2 separate regions of the Homo sapiens genome follow, and region 2 is linked to region 1. The links are contacts of gene promoters, found by promoter capture Hi-C in human tissues and cell types (Jung and others, 2019). All regions are on one chromosome and are shown on one strand. The core of a region is centred on a gene start or on the middle of the fragment in contact, and the rest is flanking DNA. Distances in the headings are between cores, read along the strand shown.

The links. The method cuts DNA at HindIII sites, captures the fragments that hold promoters and counts their contacts. A contact is called where the count stands out against the background at its distance.
Region 2: a fragment that was not itself captured here is called in contact with the fragment with the promoter of BRINP1 in region 1 in 1 of the 25 tissues and cell types used here (liver).

What each region holds. Positions count from the first base shown.
Region 1 is chr9:119,366,271-119,372,094 of GRCh38, forward strand. BRINP1 (BMP/retinoic acid inducible neural specific 1) reads right to left here and starts at 3,165. Exons shown (of 8, transcript NM_014618.3): 1 at 2,786-3,165. RefSeq lists enhancers at 2,564-3,085, 3,086-3,608, 3,609-4,129. The HindIII fragment of the contact is 11,628 bases long and covers 1-5,824 here.
Region 2 is chr9:119,313,219-119,319,042 of GRCh38, forward strand. BRINP1 (BMP/retinoic acid inducible neural specific 1) reads right to left here. Exons shown (of 8, transcript NM_014618.3): 2 at 1-187. The coding sequence starts at 137. Among named protein-coding and RNA genes, the nearest start is that of BRINP1, 53 kb to the right of the region's middle. The HindIII fragment of the contact is 6,268 bases long and covers 344-5,824 here.

The DNA of each region.
Region 1 (5,824 bases), core at 1,915-4,414:
AAAGAAATTAATTTGCCTGAAGTATTTGCACTGGTAGATGGGTGTACATTTTGCTCTCTGGAAACCAGTGCATTCCTTAATAAAAATCTTAGATACAGACCAGACACTTTGCTGGGTTCTGCCTACCAGTCACACTCAGTACTGGGTCCTTGCTTGTCGGTAATTCCCTAAAGACATTGGAGAAGGAATCTATGTTCTCTCTCTGTCTCTCTCTCAGTCCTCCCCCCACCACCGTGTGTGTGTGTGTGTGTGTGTGTGTGTGTGTGTGTGTGTGTGTGTGTGTGTGTGTGTCTTTCGGGAATAGTGATTGAGGCATTGGATCTTTTCTCTTCAGGGCCATGTTTCCAGATAGAAAAACCCTGAAATGCATCTCTGAAAATGTGAAGTTTGATGAGGGAAGACAAGCGATTGTCTTGGTAGGGGTCATGGTGGCAGGTTGGCAAGATAGGGGTGGGAGCAATATACAGTCCTAGAGTGTATATTGCTGGGAGGAGTGGAAAGGGTATTGATCTAGCTGATTGATAAGCCTAGATTCTAGTCCTGGGCATGCCACTAACCCACTACTGAATGTTGGGGAATTCTCATTCCCTCTTTAGGCCACAGAGTCCTGCCTTTCTGCTCTTTAATATTCCTTCCAGTTTCGATCGTCTGTGAATTAGGAAAGAGAGAAAATGAGGCAGTTCCCAAAAATGGGTCTCCTCCTTGGCCCTAGTACCCCCTACCCAAGATAATCCAGGGAGCTCTGCCCTGACATGAGTTTCCTGAAGGAGATTCTCTGTGGCTATGTGAAGGCTTCAGCCTGAGGTATCAGCCTCTGGACAGAGAATGGTATGTCTGCAAGTGCCTGCAGGTAGAACCCACCCACTAGGGCAGGTTCCTACAAATACATGTTTGCTTTTATCTCTCCCCAGAATATGAACACATGTGTGTGTGTGTGTGTGTGTGTGATTGATATATATATATATATATATATCTTCCTAGAATATATGTGTACATTTTTTAGGCCAAATATATTTCTACTTTTTTCCCCTAAGAGGGCTTTTCAGCGGCCCCTCCGTGCTGAGCTAGACAAGAGGCTGTGTCCCAGCGTCACAGCCCTTGTCTTCTCCTAGCCTCCCTGCCTGAGAGCAGAACGGCTGCCGCTTACCTTGAGAAAGTAACAGCTGCCGAGTCTGGAAGCCATGCTAACAGCAGTAAAACTCAGCATTTTTGCTGAGTAGGGCAAGCCTTTAAGAGGCAGCTGGGAATCAAATCAATGGCTGGCCCCAGAGCCCAAGCCCAACAGTACCAAGCCAGGGTGGCCAAGGGACCTACCTAAAGAGCCTCCCAGGAGATGGAGGAAAGAAGAAAGAGGGCCTTGACCCAAACTACCTTCCTGGCTGAGATTCCTCCACCGCCCCCCTGCCCTTGGCAGTATTTTGGAGCCAAGTGAGAGACGCGAGGTGCAAACCGACAGCAGTTTAAGTCAATTACTGCCACATTCTGTCATGGGTTCCACACTCACAGCCCCTTTTCAAATTGTAGATCTCCCTCAGTACTGAAACACTCTCTCTCTCTGTCTCCCTCTCTCTCGCTCTTGCTCTCTCTCTCTCCCTCTCCACCTCTCTGCCTTCTCTCAATATCCCCCTAACTCCAGGGGAGCCATGGAGAGGCATATTTAGGGAGAGACTCTCTGGGGGCTTCCCCGCCTGAAATGGGGAAAGAAAGACGAATCTGTCTTAGGAAAGTGCCCCATCCATCTCCTTCCATATCATCCACAGCCGCCCCAGATGAAATTTCCTCTGAGACCCTTTGCAACTGTGATGGATGAGCAAGTCCCCGAGGACGCTTTCTCCTTTCCCCTGAGGGGGATCCATGCAAACTTGCCAGATCCTCCCCAAAACCAACAGAAGCCGGAGGGGCTCTGTTGATTGCAAACGGGGATGCAGGGTAAATCCCTATCCCAGACTTTCCAAGCCCCAGATAAGGAGCCCACCGCTGACTTCCCCCTTTCTCTGTCACCCACTATCCAGTGTCTCCAAATTCCCATCAGAATCTTGGAGTCTGCCCAGTGTAGAATTTAAAGTGACAGCGTCTCATTTGCCTCGGGGGTTGGCCATGTCTCTTTCATATTAAGCTGTGGGTCCCAGTGTAGCAGGATTCCACCGTTTGGAGGAATTTTCCTTCAAGCGTACCAACATTGGGCTAAATAAGGTGCCATCTACAGCCCCATAATCCTCCCCAAACCCCAAGCCCAGAGCCCCAAGAGGAAGTCCACAGCGGGTTTCCCGGTGACTACGTGATCCTATAGTAAGGGTCCCATTCCGTGTAAGCTGGAGAGACCTAATTAAAAAGACACACGAGGGCACACATACAAACACATACGTACAAACATGCACACACACATCGCGCCGTAAGTAGGTTATAGGACCTCTCTCTCTTCACCCCTCCCTTACACACACGGACACACACACACACCACGAACACACGCATCAAACGCAAACGACGCCGCACACGCAAACACACTAGCACCACATCAAGTTCCCACCATGGTGCACACGTCGGGAGCGCGCGGGGACACACACGCCACTCACTCAAACCCGCAATTAGCCCTTTGAGCCCCAGGCACAGGAACCCCCTCCCTAGAACTGGAGAAGACTTGGAGGCGGCGGGGCGGCCAGGTGAAGAGCGGACAAGGGTGCCGGTAGGGGGAGGGGCAGAGGAGCGCGGGGACGCCCCGAATGCGGCCCGGGGCCGGGTCCAAGGGCAGCGGGGCTGCGGGGCGCTGCACCCGGCGCCGCCTTACCTGGAGTCAATGTCCGTCTTTGGCGGAGAGCTGCGGGAGGACGCTTTTTATTCGGCTCGGTGGGAACTTGGGAGAGCCCTGCGTGCAGCTCGCATTCCGGGCACGGCGCGGGGACTGCAGGCGTGGGGGTACCTGGCTCCTAGCAGCCTGGCTCATACTCAGCCGTAAAGTCCCCTTCGCTGGTCCCGAGGACAGGCATGAATCCCGGCTCCGGAAGGCGGTCACTACTCCCTCTGCCTCCCGGCTCTCTCGCTCTCGCTCTCGCTGTTGCTCGCTCGCTCTCTCCCTCTCTCGCGGGTTCGCTCGCCTGCGCTCTCCTCCTCCCCGCGCGCCAGATCAGTTTGCAGCCGTGGGGTCCGGGAGCGAGGCGGCTGGCGAATGGAGAGGGAAGTCCAAGTGCGCCGCGGTCTCCGGGCGGGGAGCGGCGGAGGCCGGGCTACGCCGGGGGAGGGACTTAGCCGGCGACGGCCGAAAATGAATGGGGGAGCGGCGGCCGGGGGGCGGGGAGGGAGGAGCTGAACGCCGGGGTTGCTTCCGAGGAGTGTTTTGTACATCTTTAGGCGGAGGAGGAGGAGAAGCGAGAGGAGGAGAGACGGGAGGCCGCCTCGAGGGAAGGGCGGCCCGGGTGGGCTGGGGCTGAGCCGTAGGGAGTTTCGTGGGTCTGGGGCGTGTAGGGTGTTGTGTCTATGCGCACGAGCATCCAAAGGGACCGCGCATACGCGCAAACCCGGAATCCTGGTGCCCTTAAGCGTGACTGTACTGTGTGTGTCGCGAGTACCTGAGTGTTTCTGGGGCGGCAGGTGTTTCCACGGCCGCGTGGATCCATCGAGTGTGGGTTTTGTCTCGGGAGTTGCCCGTGTGGGTCCGTTTGTGTCTGCGCGTCTCTCTGTGAGTGTTTGACACTGTTTGTTTCTCTCGGTGTGTAGGCGAGAGCCCACGTAACCTCCCAGAATGAAGCAAGAGCTTCTCTACGTAGGCAGGATGTAGGAGGGAGAAGCTGAGGGGACACGAAGTTCTCTGGAGACCACCAGAGGCGGGGAAGGGGCGAGGGTACAGGGACTAAGACATGAAAATAAAAAGCAAAATACTCTGCAATCAGCCTGAATGCAGGCTGGGGCTGCTAACATAGGGCCTCTTCCTGAAGCAGAAAATAAAGCCCTCGTATGATAATTCCCACACAGCGCACATTTGGTATGTTTGTTTACTTTGCTTCCCTTCTGATTTAAACCAAATCAGCAATGCAGATCCCTAGTCCCCTGAAGATTAGGCAAGAATAGAAAGCATTAAGGCTACCAGATGGAGGGGCAGGAAGTCATAGGAAAAGGTGTTGGAATATGTAAAAGAGCCAGATTCAGTAGAAGTGCAGGCTCCAGAGAGGTTGGAGTCCTGTAGCTGTCTGGTCTTGGTGAAATCACTTACCCCTTAAGCCTCAATTCCTTGTCTGTTTAATAGAATAATAATATATCTACCCATCTAATAGGGTTGATGTGGAATTGTAATGAGTTAATATATGCAAAGGCACTTAGACTGCTCATGAGTTAATGTATGCAAAGGCACTTAGACTGCTCCCTGACACCTAGTGAGTGCTCAGTGCATGTTGTCTGCTTTTATGATTGCCATTGTATGTTTTTTGTTTGTTTTTTAATTCAAAGGATGATAAGAGAGAGATGTGACCACCAGGGAGGCCTAGAACAATCTAGGAGCCAGTGAACTAATTGGAGGAAGAGGAGTCTTGAAACAAAATGGAAGAGAAATGTTTGAGTGATGAACTGGGAACTCGGGAAAAATTATTTAATCGACAAAGAGAAAGGGAGAAAGAGAGGAGAAGACATCGAGCTAGCCAGAATGATCCTGGGTCTCAGAAGGTCAGGACTGAGGGGAGAGGAAAGGGAGAGGAGGAGCAGCCAGTGCAGAGCTTCTCAGCCTTCACTGGAATCCCAATGAGGAGGAGTCAGCACCACGGACAGCTCTCCAGCCACAAACCCAGTCAGCGATTTCTATTTTCGCCTGGTGGAAATTTCTCCCTTTTTTCTTGGGCAACTTTCTCTTTCCCTTGGCTTCTGGTCCAGGTTCAGGTCTTGAACACAGGTTCCCCAGGTCAGTTCTGACTTTGATTCTGACCACGAAGAAATACGCCCACCACACACACTCCTTCTCCCACCCACCGCGGTATGAAACCCCAGGTCACTATCTCTTGCCTCTCCTCCTTTCTTTCTTTTCTCTCTCTCTCTTTCTGTCTGTGCCCCATTCCTTCCTTTATTCGTCCCTATCTTTCTCTTTGTTTCCCCATCATCCCCCAGCTGAGATCTACTTCCATGACTGTTAGTAGGCAACAGCTGCCCTGCTGATAATGCAGTTCTGAAATCAATCTGAGACAACGTAGTCAGGCAACTTCAGGTGAAGACCAAAGTTCTGACTGATTCTTCTTAACCCTTTCCTTGTAATCAATCTCCCAAGATGGGTTGTGGTCTACATACCTTAGAAAGTGGGGACTTAATGCTTTGGAATACTGTCCAGTCTTTCTCTTCCTCACCCCACCCAGTCAATATTTCCCTAAAGAAAAAAAGAGCTCTTCTAGTTCCAACCAATACTACACAGAGAGAAAGAGGAGAGAGAATTTTGAACTTTTACCGTGCACCAAGCATTTTATTTGCAATGTTCTGAATATTATTGCTTACAGTTCTGAAAATACTTTGCAGTATGAATAGATAATACTATCCCATCTTTATGGCATAGGAAATTGAGTCTTGAAAAACTTGAGTATATGCCAAACTAGCTATATGCCAAAATATAGCTAGTAGGTGATGGAGTCAGGAATTCAACACCCAAGTCCAAGTCCAAAATCTTTATCCTCTGGGAATAATGGGGAAGCCCTGGGGTGATTGGAAGTTCTTGGAATTTTATGGGGTCACTGCACCCAACCCTAAATATCAACTTAGATGTCTGGATCCATTGCATTATCTGTGTCCCATCCCAATGGATGATTTAGTGTATCTTGTCCCTGGAGAAGGAGGTGAAGACTTTGCATGGACAGATTTA
Region 2 (5,824 bases), core at 2,228-4,727, 53 kb before region 1:
CCCCTGTCTGAAATGAGCCAATCAAATTCCTTGGAGACATGTTGGTCTGTCCCAGCTGGTTCCTGGTGGGAGGGCTGCACTGAGATACGGCCCCATATAAACAGGAAGTAGAGGAGCTCAACAAACCTCCAGTTCATGCTTTTCTGCCGGCCTTTTTCCTCTCATTCTTGCTCCATTCTGTGGAGTCCTATAGAAGAAAGAATAAAAAAGAGAGAGAAAAAAAGAGAAACCAAAAGAGAGAGAGGAGAGGGGAAGAGGAGTAAAAGAAAAAGACACAGGAAAAGAAAAAATGTGATTAACACATCTTCATAATAATACCTTATATCAGTAGAGTGCTTTAAAGTTTATAAAACCCAGTACAGTTCTGGTTAAAAACATAGAATCTATGGAAATCTGGGCCCATGTTCCCATTTTGCTGTTCACATATTGTCTGAACATGTACAAACTGTTTGGTCTATTATGGATGCAGTTTTCTTGGAAGTAAAACTGAGGGTGAGCTTACGAGCCTGTATCTTGGCACTTGGCACATCATGGATGCTCAAGGAAGATGTGTTGAAAAAATGAATAAATGAATTAATGCAGAAACAGAGTCTCATACACCCAGTAAGAGACATAGGGACACAATTCAAGTGAGTGTACCCTCTTCTGTCTTCACTAACAACCTGCCTCTCATAAAGAGGTATCAATAAACAAGAGTTCCTTTTCCTTCTCTCAGCAGGCATGTATCCACTGAGCACACATTTTGCTTTTGCATGAACAGATGAATGCACAAAGTCTTGTGATGGATTATCATGACTATCTAGGTTGAATACTTTAGAGACGAAGAGTTCATGGAGCTTGCTTACAGTTCACTTCTGCAACGTTCAATGGAATGTCTCCCAAACCCAAAGAAACATGGCCAGAGAATTTGTCTTTTGGTGACTCAGCCTCAAAGGTTGCCCAGGGTTCAAAAGGAAAACTGAAGGCGGTCATTTTGTCAGGGGGTCTCGCATGCTTCTTTTATTAGGGGGTCTTATGGCACAGTGGTGCTGCGAGGGTGAAATGCTTAAGCCTAAGGGGTAGCTTTGGTAGAGAGGTACCTTGTGGAGAGGATAGACCAGAAATCACAAGGCCATGCCAATTTTGTAAACACAATTTACACTTTTTGTTTAGTTTTGTTTTGTTTGAGACGGAGTCTCACTCTCTCACCCAGGCTGGAGGGCAATGGCACAATCTCAGCTCACTACAACCTCCGCCTCCAGGGTTCAAGTGATTCTTCTGCCTCAGCCCCTCAAGTAGCTGGGACTACAGTCACGTGCCACCACACCCAGCTGATTTTTGTATTTTTCATAGAGATTGGATTTCACTATGTTGGCCAGGCTGGTCTCGAACTCCTGACCTCATGATCCGCCCTCCTTGTCAGTCTACTTACTCGCTTAACTGTATGTGACCCCACCCTACTTATTCTAACAGAGCTTCTCTTACTCCATATTGAAAGGCAGCTTTAAATCCACTTTGTATCTGTTAGAAACAGTAATATTTCAGGTCATGTATTTAACTTTCCTGACATTCAGTTTCCTTATCTGCAAAATGTGGTTAATAATAGCACCTACACTCAGAACCAAGATGACAATTAAACGACATAATTGCTCCCTCTTGTGCCTGGCATACAGTAAGTGCTCAATAAATGTCACGTATCATGATGAGGATAATGATGATGAATGTCGATACTGATGTCAACTTATTCCCTATGACAGTGTTTTTGTTCACCTGATCCCCACTGCCTGGCCAAACCCTGTTTAAATCCTTCAATAGCCAGCTGAGATCATGTCCTCAGAGGTCATTTTCTTTTTTTATTAATTTAAAAAAGCGTTATTTGTTTACTCCTCTGAGCTATAGTTGCTCATTTTCTGTAACTGCATTTTAGCCCTTATCACCTTGTATTATGCTTACAGGCATACTTCATTTTATTGTACTTCACTTTATTGAGATTTGCAAATATTAAAGTTTTAACAAATCGAAGGCTTGTGGCAGCCCTCAGCCTAGCCAGTCTGTTAACACCAATTTTCCAACAATGTGTGCTCACTTTGTGTCTTGGTGTCACATTTTGATAATTATCAAAATATTTCACACTTTTTTATTATTATTGTATCTGTTATGGTGGTCTGTGGTAAGCAAACTTTGATGTTATTATTGTAATTATTTGGGTGCACCATGAACTGGACCCATATAAGATGGCAAACTTTATCGATAAACCTGTGTTTTCTGACTGCTCCACTGACTAGCTATTCCCTTTCTCTCCCTTTCCTCAGGCCTGCCTACTCCCCGAGAAATAATAACACCGAAATTAAGCCAATTAGTAAACCTACAATGACCTATAATTGTTTAAGTGAAAGGAGGAGTCCTACATCTCTCACTTTAAATCAAAAGCTAGAAGGCATGGCAAAAGGCAAGATAGGCTGGAAGCTAGGGCTCTTGCACCAGTTAGCCACATTGTGAATGTGAAGGAAAAGTCCTTTAAGGAAATTAAATGTGCTGTTCCAGTGAACACATGAATGATAAGAAAGCAAAACAGCCTAGTGTTGAATGAAGAGAGTTTTAGAGGTCTGGGTAGCAGGTCAAAACAGTCACAACATTCCCTTAAGCCAAAGCCTAATTCAGAGTAAGGTTCTAACTCTCTCCAATTCCATGAAGGATGAGAGAGATGAGAATGCTGCAGAAGAAAAGTCTGAAGCCAGCAGAGGTTGCTTCCTGAGGTTTAAAGAAAGAAGCCATCTCTGTAACATGAAAGTACAAGGTGAAGAAGCTAATGCTGATGGAGAAGGTGCAGCAAGTTATCCAGAAGATCGAGCTTCAATTATTGATGAAGATGGCTACCCTAAACAATCTATTTTCTTTCTTGTTTTGGAGACAGGGTCTTGCTCTGTCGCCTAGCCTGGAGTGCGGTGGTGCAATCTTGACTCACTGCAACCTCCACCTCCCGGGTTCAAGCAATTCTTATGCCTCAGCTTCCCCAGTAGCTGAGATTACAGGTGCACGCCACCATGCCCATCTCATTTTTTGTATATTTAGTAGAAACAGGGTTTCGCCATGTTGGCCAGGCTGGTCTTGAACTCCTGACCTCAAGTGATCTGCCCGCCTCAGCCTCCCAAAGTGCTGGGATTACAGGCGTGAGCCACCGTGCCCGGCCAACAACCTATTTTCAATGTATACAAAATAGCTTTATATCTGAAGATGTCGATGATTTTCATAGCTAGAGAGAAGTCAGTGCCTGACTTCAAAGCTTCAAAGGACAGACTGTCTCTCGTTAGGGGCTAATGCAGCAGGTGACTTTAAGTTGACGCCAAATGCTCACCTACCATTCCAAAAATCCTAGGGCCCTTAAGAGTATGCTAAATCTACTCTGCTTGTGATCTAAAGCCTGGATGACAGCACATTTGTTTACAACATAGTTTACTGAATATTTTAAGGCCATTATCCAGAACTACTGTGCAGAAAAAAAGATTCCTTTCAATATTATTGCTCACTGACAATGCATCTAGTCACATAAGGGCTCTGACAGAGATATACAAGGAGATTAATGGTGTTTTCATGCCTGCTGAAACAACATCTATTCTGCAGCCCATAGATCAAGGCATGATTTTGACTTTCAAGTCTTATTGAGAAATACATTTCATGAGGTCAAGAGATCGAGACTATCCTGGCCAATATGATGAAACCCCGCCTCTACTAAAAATACAAAAATTAGCTGGGCATGGTGGTGCGCACCTGTAGTCCCAGCTACTTGGGAGGCTGAGCCAGGAGAATCGCTTGAACCCGGGAGGCGGAGGTCGCCGGGAACCAAGATCGCACCACTGCACTCCAGCCTGGTGACAGAGTGACATTCCATCTCAAAAAATAAAATAAAATAAAGAAAAAAGAAATACATTTTATACTGCTATAGCTGCCATAAAAAGGGATTCCTCTGATGGATCTGGGCATTGCACATTGGAAAACTTCTGGAAAAGAGTCACCATTCTAGATGCCATTAAGAACATTTGTGATTCATGGGAAGAAGTCAAAATATCAACGGTAACAGGAGTTTGGAAGAAGTTGATTTCAAACCTCATGAATGATCATGAGGGGTTCAAGACTTCAGTGGAGTAAATCACTGTAGATGTGACAGAAATAGCAAGATAACTAGAATTAGAAGTAGAGCCTGAGGATATGACTGAATTGCTGCAATTTCATGATAAAACTTGAACGGATGACGAGTTGCTCCTTATGGATGAGCAAAGAAAGCAGTTTCTCAAGATGGAGTCTACTCTTGATGAAGATGCTATGAACACTGTTGAAACGACAACAAAGGATTTAGAATACTACGTAAACTTAGTTGATAAAACAGTGGCAAGATTTGAGAGTACTGACTCTGGTTGTGAAAACAGTTCTACCTTACGTAAAATACTATCAAACGGCATCACATTCTACAAAATTATTTCATGAAAGAAAGAGTCAATTGATGTGGCAAACCTCATTGTTGTCTAACTTAAGAAATTGCCACTGCCACCCAGTCTTCAGCAACCTGACCACCCTGATCAGTCAGAAGCCAACAACATTGAGGCAAGACCTTCCACCAGCAAAAAGATTTTAACTCACTGAAACTTCAGATGATCATTAGCCTTTTTTTAGTAATAAAGTGTTTTTAATAAAGGCATATACATTGTTTTCTGAGACACACTGCTATCCTACACTTAATAGGCTACAGGATACTGTAAACATAAGTTTAATATGCAGTGGGAGGCCAAAAAATTGGGGTGATTCAATTTATTGCAATATTTGCTTTATTGTGGTCATCTGGAACGCAACCTACAAATCTCTGAGATATGCCTGTATTTGTTTCTATGTCTGTCTTGTTCATTGGGCTGTAAGCCTTTAACTGGAAATGATCTTTAGAAAACTAGCTACTCTCGCTCAGCTGCATGACTGTGGACAGTCATGTCCCCTCTCAAGACCTCAGATTTTTATGTCTTCCATGTGAAAATGTGGTGAGGACACAAACAATTTGTCAACTGTAAACCCATCTATATACATGATTAAATATGACACCTCATTTGTCTACTTTTCCAGCTGAATATGAAAGATAAAGCAAAGCTGAGAAAGAGAAAAAAATTTAAAAGAGAAATGTGATTTATTGCCCAGTTGGTTATTTCTCTCTGTTGCCCATTGCACTGTTTTATCATGAGTCGCTACAAAAATCTGCTTGTCACTGCAAGTCTCAGTTGTCAGGGGCAAAGGAGAAAGGTACATGAGCAGAGGAGTGAGCTGGCAAAAGCTGTGGCCTGAGGTCTTGTTCAGAGCCTAAAACAAATCCGTACATGTTGAGTGCAGAACAGTAACAACTACGGCTGCCAAACTGTCTGCCAGAGCCCCCAAGTGGCAAGCAGGGGATGAAGGCGATTGTTGGGAGATCCTGGTAGTGATACAACACACTGAAGTCACAGTGTGTCACCCACACAGCCCTTCTACATGGCTTCTATTGTAAACTGGTGCAGGGTGGGAGCCTGTGAGAGAATACTTAGCTGTTAGACTGTTTGCAAAGAAACAAGGCTCAGAACATTGCAGCTCTCAAAAGTGGAACAAGGTCATACATGGAAGAGAAATGTGTGGGGTGTGTGTGTGTGTGTGTGTGTGTGTGTGTGTGTGTGTGTGCAGGAGAGTGAGACCTCAGCCTACAGTCCCAGAATTAGCTGAAATTTGGAAGATTTAACTCGTACTTCCCAAGTGTGGACCTTTTGCTCCCCAGGGAACATCTTTGATCCTCACAACTGAGGGGATGCTGCTGGCATCTGATGGGTGGAGGCCAGGG